Regions from separate parts of the Homo sapiens genome. Here region 2 is linked to region 1. The links are contacts of gene promoters, found by promoter capture Hi-C in human tissues and cell types (Jung and others, 2019). All regions are on one chromosome and are shown on one strand. Each heading gives the region's core, a stretch centred on a gene start or on the middle of the fragment in contact. The rest is flanking DNA. Distances are from core to core; before and after follow the strand shown. Region 1 holds the start of IGSF6 (immunoglobulin superfamily member 6). Region 2 has its middle 41 kb from the start of NPIPB4.

What was found. Contacts are between HindIII fragments. The study calls those that stand out against the background at their distance.
Region 2: a contact is called between a fragment that was not itself captured here and the fragment with the promoter of IGSF6 in region 1, in 1 of the 25 tissues and cell types used here (hippocampus).

What each region holds. Positions count from the first base shown.
Region 1 is chr16:21,649,900-21,656,920 of GRCh38, reverse strand. It overlaps IGSF6 (immunoglobulin superfamily member 6), which reads left to right and starts at 4,313. Exons shown (of 6, transcript NM_005849.4): 1 at 4,313-4,389. The coding sequence starts at 4,323. METTL9 (methyltransferase 9, His-X-His N1(pi)-histidine) reads right to left here. Exons shown (of 5, transcript NM_016025.5): 5 at 1-1,694. The coding sequence ends at 1,489. The HindIII fragment of the contact is 6,081 bases long and covers 332-6,412 here.
Region 2 is chr16:21,813,405-21,819,826 of GRCh38, reverse strand. It overlaps the pseudogene RRN3P1. Among named protein-coding and RNA genes, the nearest start is that of NPIPB4, 41 kb to the left of the region's middle. RefSeq lists an enhancer at 1-158. The HindIII fragment of the contact is 9,076 bases long and covers 434-6,422 here.

The DNA.
Region 1 (7,021 bases), core at 3,064-5,563:
AAAAAAATCATTAGAACACACCAATAACAATTTTGCATAAATCACATAACCCAACTCTTATTATGACTGCACAGTAACAGTGGAAGATATTGGTGTGAGGATGTGGGAATGCAGTTCTTAATGAATAATAAAGTAATTCTTCAGGTTTTAATTCGCCTTTATACCCAGGTGTTGGAGTGAATGTGTTGATCTGATGACTTCTATGAGCATATAAATGAGAATACTTAATGAAACACCTGGATGAAAAAAGAAATAAAGTAGTGAGGATAACATATTGTTAATAACCACAATCTCATATTGACATTTCTGTTATTACTGAGATTTCAGATTCTGGGTTAAATGCTCTGCTCTTTGGAATATCCACGATGGTTATTGATCTTGCTAATGGGTTCCTCTATGGCAGCATTTCTGGGTTTATGGTTGGAGGCACTCACGGATTCCAGAATGCATGAGTCTGACACGGTCTTCATCAAACCATATTCTTGGCAAATAATAAACTCCTTTAAGGATTTCAGGGAAGAGCCAAGCTCTGGGAGAGAGGTATATAAGTGTAGAGTAAGAAGTTGAATTAAAACATTTTTAGTTGCATTTTGTCAGTAGACAAAACTGAATGTTTCAATTCTGAGAACCTGAGATTGTCCAGAAAAAAACAAAGTTCAGTGTATGGGACATGAGTGATCACAAAGTCAGAACCAGGTTATTTTGCATTTTTCACAGCAGCATTAACTGGGGGGGTGGGGGGAGGGGTCCCTGAAGTTCTGTATCTGAATGAGGCTGGGTTTTTGTTTCTGTTTTTTTTTTTTACTGACTCAGTGTTCACTGCAATTTGCAATAATCTCCCCTTCCCCCAAGTCTGAAGCCTTCCTTCCCCCCTATTCAAATTGTCTGCGTCATTCTCATAATGCTACTATTTGGGTACTCCTGAAGCCAAACCAATAAAAAATGCTAGGGGAGCTTTATATGAATTCAAACATGATGCCAAAGTCATCTCCAAAAAAGTTTATTAGCATGATTAAAAACATTTTCTTGAATAATAACAGAAAGAATTTCTAAACATGAAAGAATATCAGTGGCTATACCTTAAAACCAGTATTTGGAATTGAATGGACAGCTTTATTGCCAGTCTTCAAAAAACAATCCATTGATTGGTTCCATGAAGTCGTGACTATTGCTTTGTCTGGGAATGAGTCCCTACTGCAATTAAGTATAAAAAATATCTTCCATCATAATTGGAGTGTGACCTGCATTGGAGAGTGGCTCTGAGTAAAGAGTTGATAAAAATCCACAAAGAGTTGGGTTTTTGTCTTTTAAAAACATTCCTTTACACACTACAAAGAAATAATTAGTATTTTGGCTTTTTAAATTCCTACATGATATTTAGAATGGCGGTCCCCAAGGGTCCTCCCTTCACGTAATTGTGAACACAGACCCTCTTCCAAGGGCACATCCCGGAGGGTGCGGACTCTGAAGACTTCGACCTCCACGTGTTTATACTGGTTTGAGAACAAAGACAGCGTCATCCAGAACGTAGTAGTCATTATACATGTCGCCTTCACACAGGTATGGTAGTCTGGTGAAAGCTTCGATAACAAAACCAGCTTTTCTGAAAACTTCAGGCAGACTATTCACTTGTTCTTCCCAGTTCTGTCCTTTGATTTCCAAAATTTCTGATGGTTTCTCCCACTTGCCACCTACTAATACAAATAAGAACATTCAGTTAAATTCTTGAACAAACAAGTGATTTAAAGAGGGAAGCAGGGAGGAGCCATATCTACCAAGGACTTGGTACGTTCCAAGCCTGAGGGCTTCATGAGTTACCTCTTTTGTACTTCCCAGGTACTCTTTGAGACAGGTGGGCAGATAAAGAACAGACTCAGAAGGGGTGAAGAACTTGCCCACGCTTGCAAGGTTAATGAGTGTCAGTATGGAAATGTAAGCCCAGGTTTGTCTGGATCCAAGGCCCCACACTGTTATCTTCTCTGACAGTTTTGGGTAGTATCTGCCAATAGACTGACTGCAGGGTGTAATGGTTAATGGGTTTGGAAAACTGGTCATTAAATGCTGGAATACTGAAACAGAGAGCAACATGTAATATCTGAAGGACAGTTTTGGACAAATGCAAGAAAATACCACTGGCATAGTAAACTTATGCAACTTACTACCTAGAGAGATTTATTAGGCTGAAAATAAAAACAGGCTCATGAAGGATTTTAATTTAGAAAAGCAGATCATTGGGGAGTTTTTCTAGGGAAGTTGACTCATTCTTTGCCTTTTCAGAACAATTTCATAAACATTAAGCTCCAGGACCAGAGAGAGATGGAACAGTAGGATGGATACACCGTCCAGCATTTCTTGGACTAGAGATGAAGCCTCTATCAGTCATTTCCAAACCTATGAGCAGGAGATGCCTGGGGGACAAGGGGACTAGGGAAGGTCCTCAAATTCACATACAAACCTGGCACTGACTACAGACACACACACAGAGATGACAGTATATTTAACTTTGGGGGTACTTTTTAGGTGCTATGGTGATACAAAAACTACATACATCTGTTGAAGTGTTAAAACCAGATTGAGGCCGGGCGTGGTGGCACATGCCTGTAATCCCAGCACTTTGGGAGGCCGAGGTGGGCGGATCACGAGGTCAGGAGATCAAGACCATCCTGACTAACACAGTGAAACCCCGTCTCTACTAAAAAAAATACAAAAAAATTAGCTGGGCATGGCAACATGCACCTGTAGTCCCAGCTACTTGGGAGGCTGAGGCAGGAGAATGGTGTGAACCCGGGAGGCGGAGCTTGCAGCGAGCCAAGATCGTGCCACTGCACTCCAGCCTGGGCGACAGAGCGAGACTCTGTCTCAAAAAAAAAAAAAAAAAAAAAAACAAAACAGACTGAGAATAACTTTCTGTTAATGAGAAAATATATCATGAGCAGATGCCAAGGGCACAGACATCATATCATGGTGGGGAGATTTTTCATAATTTTCAGTGGTGCAGATGACGCTCTTCCCATGTCTGGGGAATTGCCTGCCCAGAGTCTGGGAGAGACACAAGGCCTGGGAGCCGCTTTCCTGGCCTGCCGTGCAGCTGAGGCACTGGCACGCAGCCTAAGCCAGGCACACTTGCCCATGCCCTGGAATGGAGAGCCAGTGACCCAGAGTAGTGGGGATGTGAGCTTCTCCTTCTCTGGGGGTGGAGCAATGGCAGTGAGACCAAGGGGCTGGGGCAGTGGTTGAGCGATGCTGACAACAGGGCTGATGGCACCTAGTGTTTGGCAGTGGCAGTAGCATCCTCTTCAGACCTGTTTATGGTGTGATTTGAGGCATTCTTCCTGGCTGTGGACCCCACACAAGATTCACTAGCCCTCCCAGTGACTCTAGGATCTACCTTCAAATGTTTGCATAAATTTCCTTTTAAGTCAGCCTGAGTCTGTTTCTGCTGCTTTACAAAGAAGACCCTTACTGAATCACCACTAAGTGCTGGGGGAGAGGACACAGAGGACAGAGGGCCCACATATTTGTTTCTCAACACATTAAAAGGGGGTCTTTGGGCCAGGCATGGTGGCTCACACCTGTAATCCTAACACTTTGGGAGGCCAAGGCAGGGGGATCGCTTGAGGGCAGGACTAGCCTAGACAACACAGAATCTACAAAAAAAAAAAAAAATTAGCCAGGGGTGGTGGTGCATGCCTGTAGTCCCAGCTACTCAGGAAGCTGAGGCTGCAATGACCTGCAATCTTGCCACTGCATTCCAGCCTGGGTGATAGAGACCCTGTCAAAAAAGGGGGGAAGGCAGGTGTCTTTGGATTCAAAACTGGAGTACAAAAAGTTAATAACAGACAATTTATTTATTCGCTGCATTAGAATGTGTTGTTTACTAACTTTTCTCATCTCTACACAAAGCCACTTCTCCTTCTGCTGTTCTTTGTTCCCAGCAGTTACTGGCCCAGAGTGGCACCCAGAGCAGGTACCCTAGACAGTGACTGAACTGTTCTGAAAAATCCAAGTACGAATTATTTGTCAAACAATACTCCTTCCTGGAAATATGTGCTAGGTGTAAATCAAAATCTCACCCAGAAACATCTAACACCTATGACAACTGTAAAATCCATGGAAAAAAAAAAGATATGCACATTTCTAAATGTGCTCCAGGCCAAAATCTCAATGTTAAATGGTGAAGCCATCCTTGCACAATTTCAAAAAGTTCCTGATTATGGTTCCTTCATAAGAGGTTCCTCTCTTCAGCTCTTCTTCCCTTCTGAAAAAAGAAAGCCAACTTTCCTTTCAAATACACACCCCAACCCGCCCCGGCATACACAGAAATGGGGACTGCGAGCAGAAGCAACATCGCTCGCCATCTGCAAACCAATCTCATTCTATTTTGTGTCGGTAAGGTTCTTTTTCTTCTCCTCCTTCATTTTATTTAAATCAACTGCTATTTTTCACCTAATGCATTTATATTTTAAGCTCCTTCAGATTAATTTTTAAATGTATAACATTATGAAAACTGCCTAAGAGGATAAGTTTCCTTTTTCCCCTGAGAAATAGACAATAAAAAAATAGCTGAGAAAAAGTTTCATATTAACCTTGAAAAGTCTCTTTGCTATTATGCTAATTGGAGACAATCTGACCAAAGGGTTGAAAATATTCTTAAAATCGTAGGTATAAGTTATCAATAATTTAATTATCATACAAACTTGATCTGCACATAGAAAGCAATAAATGATTATTTGCTGAATATTTTCAAAGAACAATTTCTATAAAAGTACTTTTCATTTAAGAAAAAAAAAACTGCCATGACTCCAATAGCCATCCCATAGTATATCTATTTTTAAAATTCTGTCTACTTCTGTTTTTTTATCTATGAAAGAGAAAGGATTTCCAATACATCTAGTAATCTCAGATTTGCCCACACAATTTGGATTATAGGGCAGGGAAGGGGGGAAAGTTCTTAATTTTTTCTCATCTGTGAAGAAATATATCAAAATGTTAATGGGAGTTATTTCAGGCAAAAGGACTATGGGTGACTTTTTGCTTCTACTTTTAATAACCTGTTTTTTGCTAATAAGTATATATTACTTTCATAGACTATTTTAATTAGCATTATTTTAAAGAAGAATTCCTGTCTTTTAGAGATATATTCTGAAAGATGCAGATAAAATGGCTGGGATTTGCTCTAAAATAATATGGGAGTGAGGGAGTAGGTGGGAGGAGAAAAGAAACAAGATTGGGTCGAAGCCATGTGATGGCAGGGGGTTGACTGTACTACTTCGCTACTTTGATATGTTAGAAATTTGAAATCTAATATAATAAAGCTTTGGGCTGGGCGTGGTGGTTCATGCCTGTAATCCCAGCACTTTGGGGGCCAAGGTGAGAGGATCACTTGAGCTCAGGAGTTCAAGACCAGCATGAACAACATAATGAGACCCCCATTTCTACACAAGAAAAAAAAATAGCTGGGCGTGATGGCACCTGCACTGCACCTGCAGTCCCACCCACCTGGGAGGCTGAGGCAGGAGGATCACTTGAGCCCAGGACTTTCAGGCTATAGGGAGCTGTGATTGTGCCACTGCACTCCAGCCTGGGCAACAGAGCAAGACATTTACTTACTTCTTACTTACTAGATAGAGAGACAGCTTTGTTTAAATGTCAAGAATTAGTTCTCTTCCTACTTTCAATATGGCTTTTTTGTTTGTTTGAGACGGAGTCTCGCTCTGTCACCCAGGCTGGAGTGCAGTGGCAAGATCTCGGCTCACTGCAAGCTCCGCCTCCCGGGTTCACGCCATTCTCCTGCCTCAGCCTCCCGAGTAGCTGGGACTACAGGCATCTGCCACCACACCCGGCTAATTTTTTGTATTTTTAGTAGAGACAGCGTTTCACCGTGTTAGCCAGGATGGTCTCGATCTCCTGACCTCGTGATCCGCCCGCCTCGGCCTCCCATAATGCTGGGATTACAGGCATGAGCCACCATGCCCAGCCTCAATATGGTTTTTTAAAATAATAAGAATAATCTTTCTATTCCCTCCATGGAGGAAATAAATCTTCAACCTTTTCATTGGATACTGTGTTTAAAAAACAATTCCTAGAATATGAGGATTCTTAAAAGAAATCATTCACAGAAGCAGGCTGTGGTGTGACATATCCAAACTTCTCTTTTTTGTTAATAGGTTGCCTAACTGGTTGGGGGAGGGAACCACAGTTTCATCACAAGTTCCTGCTCACAGAGGAAATCATTACAATTGGTTTTCTCCCACACATAGCCTAATTGGGAAGAAGGTGGAAATAAGTAGAGATATGAAATTCCAAAGTTACAAATACCTGTTTTTATCCTATACTACTAGTTTTTAAAGAAAAGTGTTGAAAGTCAGCTATCCCCGCCACCCCAACCTCTATTTTTTTTTTTTTTTTTTTTGAGACAAGAGTCTCACTCTGTCACCCAGGCTAGAGTGCAGTGGCACAATCTCAGCTCACTGCAACCTCCACCTCCTACGTTCAAGCGATTCTCCTGCTTCAGCCTCCCAAGTAGCTGGGATTACAGGCGTCCACCACCACACCTGGCTAATTTTTTGTATTTTTAGTAAAGATGGGGTTTTACCATGTTGGCCAGGCTAGTCTCGAACGCCTGACCTCAGGTGATCTGCCCGCCTCGGCATCCCAAAGTGCTGGGATTACAGGCGTGAGCCACCATGCCCAGCCTCTATTCCTTTTATAGAGACAGGATCTCACAATGCTGCCCAGGCTGGAGTGCACGTCCAGACTCTATTCCTTTAATAGAGACAGGGACTCACAATGCTGCCCAGGCTGGAGTGCAGTGGTGCCATCACAGCTCACTGCAGCCTGGAATTCCTGGGCTCAATCAGCCTCCGGTCTCAGCCTCCTGAGTAGCTGTGACTAATGGCCACACCACCACGCCTGGCTCTTTGGCTTCCCTTTTAAAAACACTACCCAATTTGGAAGGCTGAGGCGAGTGGATTGCTTGAGCCCAGGAGTTTAAGACCAGGCTGGCCAACATCGCAAAACC
Region 2 (6,422 bases), core at 3,722-6,221, 160 kb before region 1:
ATAGCACTCTTGGCGTTTAACTTTCAGAGTCATTAGGATGCTATGTTTTTTCATTAATTTACTACGTGTAAGTGAAGCAAACCTTGTAAAACAATTAGCGTAATATGATTCCTAATATTTATCGAGCTCCTGCTTACTGTGTTAAACACTGGGGACAGTGGTTTATCCAAAGACACTAATGTCCCTGCTTTCTACAGAGCTTACAGCATAGGGTGGGAAGGCAGTACACAGGCCAATAAATAAACGAACACGATGATTTCAGTTATACAACAAGGTAATGGGGGAGGGAGAAGGGAGAGAAGGAGTGTTCGAGATTTCTCATTGGGAAGACATCTGTCATTTCAGCTTCTACTTGAATGAAGACAAAAATCTAGGCCGGGCGCGGTTGCTCACGCCTGTAATCCCAGCACTTTGGGAGGCCGAGGTGGGCGGATCACCTGAAGTCAGGAGTTCGAGACCAGCCTGGCCAACATGCGAAACCTCGTCTCTACTGAAAATATAAAAATTAGCCAGGCGTGGTGGCAGGTGCCTGTAATCCCAGCTACTCAGGAGGCTGAGGCAGGAGAATTGCTTGAACCCGGAGATGGAGGTTGCAGTTAAGCTGAGATCACACCACTGCACTCCAGCCTGGGCAGCAGAGCAAGACTCCATCTCAAAAAAAAAAAAAAATCCAGCCACGTAGAGATTTGGGAAAAGAGTATTTCCAATAGAGTGAACAGTAAGTGAAATGAGAAACAGCTTGGCTTGTTTGAAGAGCAGAAAAGACATGATGGCTGTAGTAAAACAAGTTGTTGGAGATGAGGTGAGAGAGGTAGGCGGGGGCCAGATTAATGTAGGATTTTAAAGACCACACTGAGAGATTTGGATTGTTACTGTAAGTGCAGTGGGAAGACAGTTATTGGTTGCTGAGCAAAGGAGGGATTGTTGGTTAAGAGTGGAAGCAGGGAGACCAGTAAAGAGGCCTTAACAATAGTCCCACTGAATTATGTTGGTTCAATAAAGGTTGGCTATTATAATTTTTATTATTTTCATGAACTTAATAGCTTGTTAATCTTGGTTCCACAGGATTTCAAATATGCGTGCATTAGAGAATGATTTTTTCAATTCTCCCCCAAGAAAAACTGTTCGGTTTGGTGGAACTGTGACAGAAGTCTTGCTGAAGTACAAAAAGGTAAGAGGAGATAATGTGTGAGGTTTGCTTTTGGTCAGGTCAGAATACAACTATTGCTGTTATACTAAAGACCAATAGAAATAGCAAGATTAATTAAGATACCAGTTGAAATCAAATATTTAATAATAGCATGATGCCGTCAGTGCAAAATTAGAGTAATAGTGTCCTTTTTTTCCCCCACCTTGGCCCATTTCACAGGTAATAATGAGAGAGTAATAATGTCTTTACTGAGGTTTCACCTCTTCAAATGCTTTATTTACAAAGCATCTTTTAACTTTAGCAAGTGCTAGAATTAAAAACAATTACAGCATTTTATTTATTTATTTATTTGTGCTGGAGTCTTCCTCTGTCACCCAGGCTGGAGTGCAGTGGCGTGACCTCAGCTCACTGCATCCTCCACCTCCCAGGTTCAAGCAATTCTCCTGCCTCAGTCTTCTGAATAGCTGGGGTTACAGGCACGCACCACCACACCTGGCTAATTTTTTAATTTTTTTAATAGAGACGGGGTTTCACCATGTTGGCCTGGCTGGTCTCAAACTCCTGAGCTTGTGATCCACCCGCCTTGGCCTCCCAAAGTGCTGGGATTACAGATGTGAGCCACCATGCCTGGCCTACAGCATTTTATTTTTTGAGGAACTTACCTAAGCATTACTTTGGGACAGTAAACCGGTTCTCTGAATAGGGATTTTTGTTTTTGTGGTAGTTTAGAAGCATTTCTACTATATCTCAGCAGTAGAGGGAAAATGTTAAGTAACCGTATGTTTATATGAAATATCCATTTGTATCCATATTTGAGTGAATACTTTTTTAGATCCTCCTGAATTAGATCATTAGAGCTGGCTGTTTTTTCCCCTCATGCTTTTTGAGAATTCGCAGGAGTATCAACTATTATATTCAAATGTCAATACAGAAGTATAGCTAAATGTAGTTTATCATTTTCCTTTTTCCAAGCCCTCTGGCTGCACTAACATGAGTGTTTAAATTTTTGTAGTCATGATTTTATAATCCGCAATTGACATGTGAAAGTTAGTGTTCCTTTTATAATTTCATCTGATGTTAAAGTACGGTTAAAAGTCTTGCTGTTGATACTAAACAGGAAACAAAAGCATAACTTAATTCTTTCCCCTTCTTGTTAAGGGTGAAACAAATGACTTTGAGTTGTTGAAGAACCAGCTGTTAGATCCAGACATAAAGGTAATTAATTTTGTGTTTGATCATTAGCAAAATTATTGCCACTTTATACAGACATAGTTTGCTCTTTGGGTCCCATTCTGTTCTGCAGAACTTGCTCTCTCCATGGTCCTCCCTTACTTTAATCTGGTGGTTCTCAACCAGGGACAGTTTTACCCCCTAGAAGACATTTGGTGATGGCTGCAGATATTTTTGTCACAACTGGGAGGAAAGGGTGCTACTGGCATCTAGTGGGTGAATGACAGAGATGCTGCTAAACATCTCACAGTGCACAGGGCAGCCTCCCATAACCAAGAGTGATCCAGCCCCAAATGACAACAGTGTTGAGGCTGGGAAACCCTGCTCTAATGCTTCCTTTCTATTAGATTACTACCTCTTTCCTCCATGCTGCATGCAACTCTTTTGTCTCTTTAAAGCTAAAACAAACCAAAAAAAAAAAACAAACCACTGTTTCAGCATTTCCAGGTTCGAGATACACCTATCATGTAGTAAAACCTTAATACATTTTGTTTCACCATTCTTCCTTTACTGCCCAGTTTTGAAGAGAATGGTTTATTACCATGGCAGTGGTAGTTAGATTGCCTGGAATGAAATTCCAATTTTATTATCCAGTGTGTGATCTTGAGCAAATTGTTTTAACCTCTCTGCCTCTATTTTCCACTGTGTGAAACCAAGAAAACAATAGAGATTTAAAAAATATGGAGTGTTTTGTTTTTTAAGAGATGTGGTCTTGCTGTGTTGCTCTAGCTATTCACAGGTGTGATCATAGTGCACTACAGCCTTGAACTCCTGGCCTCAAATGATCCTTTCTCTTCAGCCTTCTAAAAAGCTGGGACTATAGGTGCATGCCACTGTGCCTGGCTTTAAACATGGAAATACTTAACAAGGATTCAATGAGCTAATATGCAAGAAGCACTTAGAACAGTCTCTGACTCAAAGTAAGGGCAGTAATTGTCATCTGTTGTTTTTGTTCCAGCTGACTGTGCTGTATCATTTCTCACTCACATTTAAGTCCACTGTTCTTATCACTGTAGTAATTACCCTGACAGATTACCCATGTTTTTTTTTTACATGCTGATTTCAGTGGACTTTTTTTGAGACAAAGTCTCCTTCTTGTCACCCAGGCTGGAGTGCAGTGGTGTGATATGGGCTCCCTGCAACCTTTGCCTCCTGGGTTCAAGCAATTCTCCTGCCTCAGCCTCCCAAATAGCTGAGATTACAGGCACCCGCCACCATGCCTGGTTAATTTTTTTATTTTTAGTAGAAACGGGGTTTCACCATGTTGGCCAGGCTGGTCTTGAACTCCTGACCTCAGGTGACCTGCCTGCCTCGGCCTCCCAAAGTGCTGGGATTACAAGTGTGAGCCACTGAGCCCAGCCTCAGTGGACTTACTTTTTTAAGCCTTGTATTCCTTGTATCAGCCGACACTGTTGGCCACCCACTTCTTAAAACTTCAGTGTTTCTGATCCTCCTGTCTTCTGATCCTTTAATCTCTCTCTTTTTTTTTTTTTTTTTTTTTTTGCTCTGTCGCCCAGGCTGGAGTGCAATGACGCAATCTTGGCTCACTGCAAGCTCCACCTCCCGAGTTCAAGTGATTCTCCTACCTCAGCCTCCCGAGTAGCTGGGACTACACGCGCCCGCCACCACCCCCAGCTAATTTTTTGTATTTTTAGTAGAGATGGGGTTTCACCATGTTAGCCAGGATGGTATCGATCTTCTGACCTCGTGATCCACCCGCCTTGGACTCCCAAAGTGCTAGGATTAGAGGTGTGAGCCACCACACCCGGCCAGTGATCCTTTAAGCTCTAGTATCTCTCGATAGGTTCTTGATCTTAAATTTGGTGTTGATTGGGCTTCAAAACTTGACTCTTTTCTCACTCTGTTGATTCTTCTGTGTGATCTCCTCATCTCCCTTCATGGCTTTGAAATCTACCTGTGTCCTAATATATTTGTGTCTGTAGCCAAGATTGCTCTTGTGGGCTCCAGACTTATTTCATTTTCATTTTTGGGGATGGGCAGAACAGAGTCTTGCTCTGTCACCTAGGCTGTAGTGTAGTGGGATGATCTTGGCTCACTGCAACCTCTGCCTCCTGGGTTCAAGCCATCCTCCCACCTCAGCCTCCTGAGTAGCTGTGCCACCACGCCCAGCTAATTTTTTTGTATTTTCAGTAGATTTGGGGTTTCACCATGCTGGCCAGGCTGGTCTCGAACTCCTGACCTCAAGTGATCCACCCGCCTCAGCCTCCCAAAGTGCTGGGATTATAGACGTGAGCCACTGCACCCGGCCTAGACTTGTTTCTTAACTGTCTGTTAGATGCATTTACCCAGAATCATCATAGATGCTCCAAACTTATCATGTCCACTCTTGGCTGGGCTCCATCTTTCATGGAGCTTTCCCTGGTTCTCTCTAAGCACATGGTTGTTCCTTCATTGAGTCTATTTCCCACACTTCCAGATCTCTCTAGTTACAGATCTGGTTTACAAGGCCCTCCATGGTCTATTTGGTGCTTCTTTGTTCCCCAGATTTATTATCTGTTGGCTTGGTCACTATACATGCCAGCCATACTGAACATTTTTCAGTTTTCTGAAAACATACTTTTCCTTCTGTAAGAAGCAGAACTTCCAGAAAAGACTCAACTGTGTTACTGTTTAAAGACAGCTGAAGCATCACTTTCTCTTTAAAGCTTTTCCTGACCCCTGCCTCCTTTCCCAGATACAAAGGGACATTTTCTTTGTGTTCCACTGTATTTTGTATCAGCAGTTCTCATTCTTGGTATTTTGACATACCAAGAATTGCACTAGTTGTGTGGAGTGTTGCAAGTAGAACTTTTTTCGTCTTGAGACAGGGTCTCGCTGTGTCACCCAGGCTGGAGTGTAATGGGCCCGATCATGGCTCACTGCAGCCTCAACCTCCCAGGCTCAAGCAATCTTCCCACCTCAGGCTCCCGAGCACCTGGGACCACAAGCATGTGCTACCATGCCTGGCTAATTTTTCTAGAGACGAGGTCTCCCTATGTTGCCCAGGCTGGTCTCAAATTCCTGGGCTCAAGCAGTTTCCTCCTGCCTTGGCCTCCGAAAAGTGCTGGGATTACAGGCATGAGCCACTGTTCCTGCCTGCTAGTAGAAATAATAATAGTTCAGTACTAAAGCATCAAAGTCTGCAACTGATTTACTTTTTTTTTTTTCTTTTTGAGACATAGTTTTGCTCTTGTTGCCCAGGCTGGAGTGCAGTGGCATGATCTTGGCTCACTGCAACCTCTGCCTCCGAGTTTTTTAAGTAATTCTCCTGCCTCAGCCTCCCGAGTAGCTGGGATTATGGGCATGCACCACCACGCCCAGCTAATTTTGTATTTTTAGTAGAGACGGGGTTTCTCCATGTTGGTTAGGCTCGTCTCGAACTCCCAACCTCAGGTGATCCACCCACCTCGGCCTCCCAAAGTGTTGGGATTACAGGTGTGAGCCACCACCCCCAGCCTGATTTACTTTTAAAAATGGTACAGTTTAAATGTTATCCTTATAGTTTTGTTGCAGTCTTTTTAGTGGAAAAGAGATAGGATAGATTATTTTATTTACACACTAACTTAGCTTGTTTTCTACATGCCTTTGGCCTTAGTGAGCTACCGTTAATGTTATCCTTAACAGTTTTGGACATATGAAATTACCATAGTACAAATGAGTTGTGGTTTTACTTTATTTTACTGCCAGGCTACTTGGGATTTCATCAGAAAATGGTTGATCTGTGGGAGTTTGACACATGGATATGGCATAGTAAGCACTCAGTAGCTGAATTAAGGTGGGGAAAAGGGGACAGCTTCTTCTCCGCATATAGGGAGGCATGTGGGATGGTGGACAGAGGATAGCCTTGACCGAGACAGATGGGTTTGGACCTGCTTCTTTACTGGCCTCTTGGTTGGGCAGATTGCTTATTAATCGTTCTTAGCCTCAGCTTCCTGAACAGCAAAATGGGAATAACTAAACATCTTGCAGAGTTCTTAGGATTAGAAGAAGATATATATGCGGAGTGTCAGGCACCATGCCTGGCATATGGTGTATTCTCACT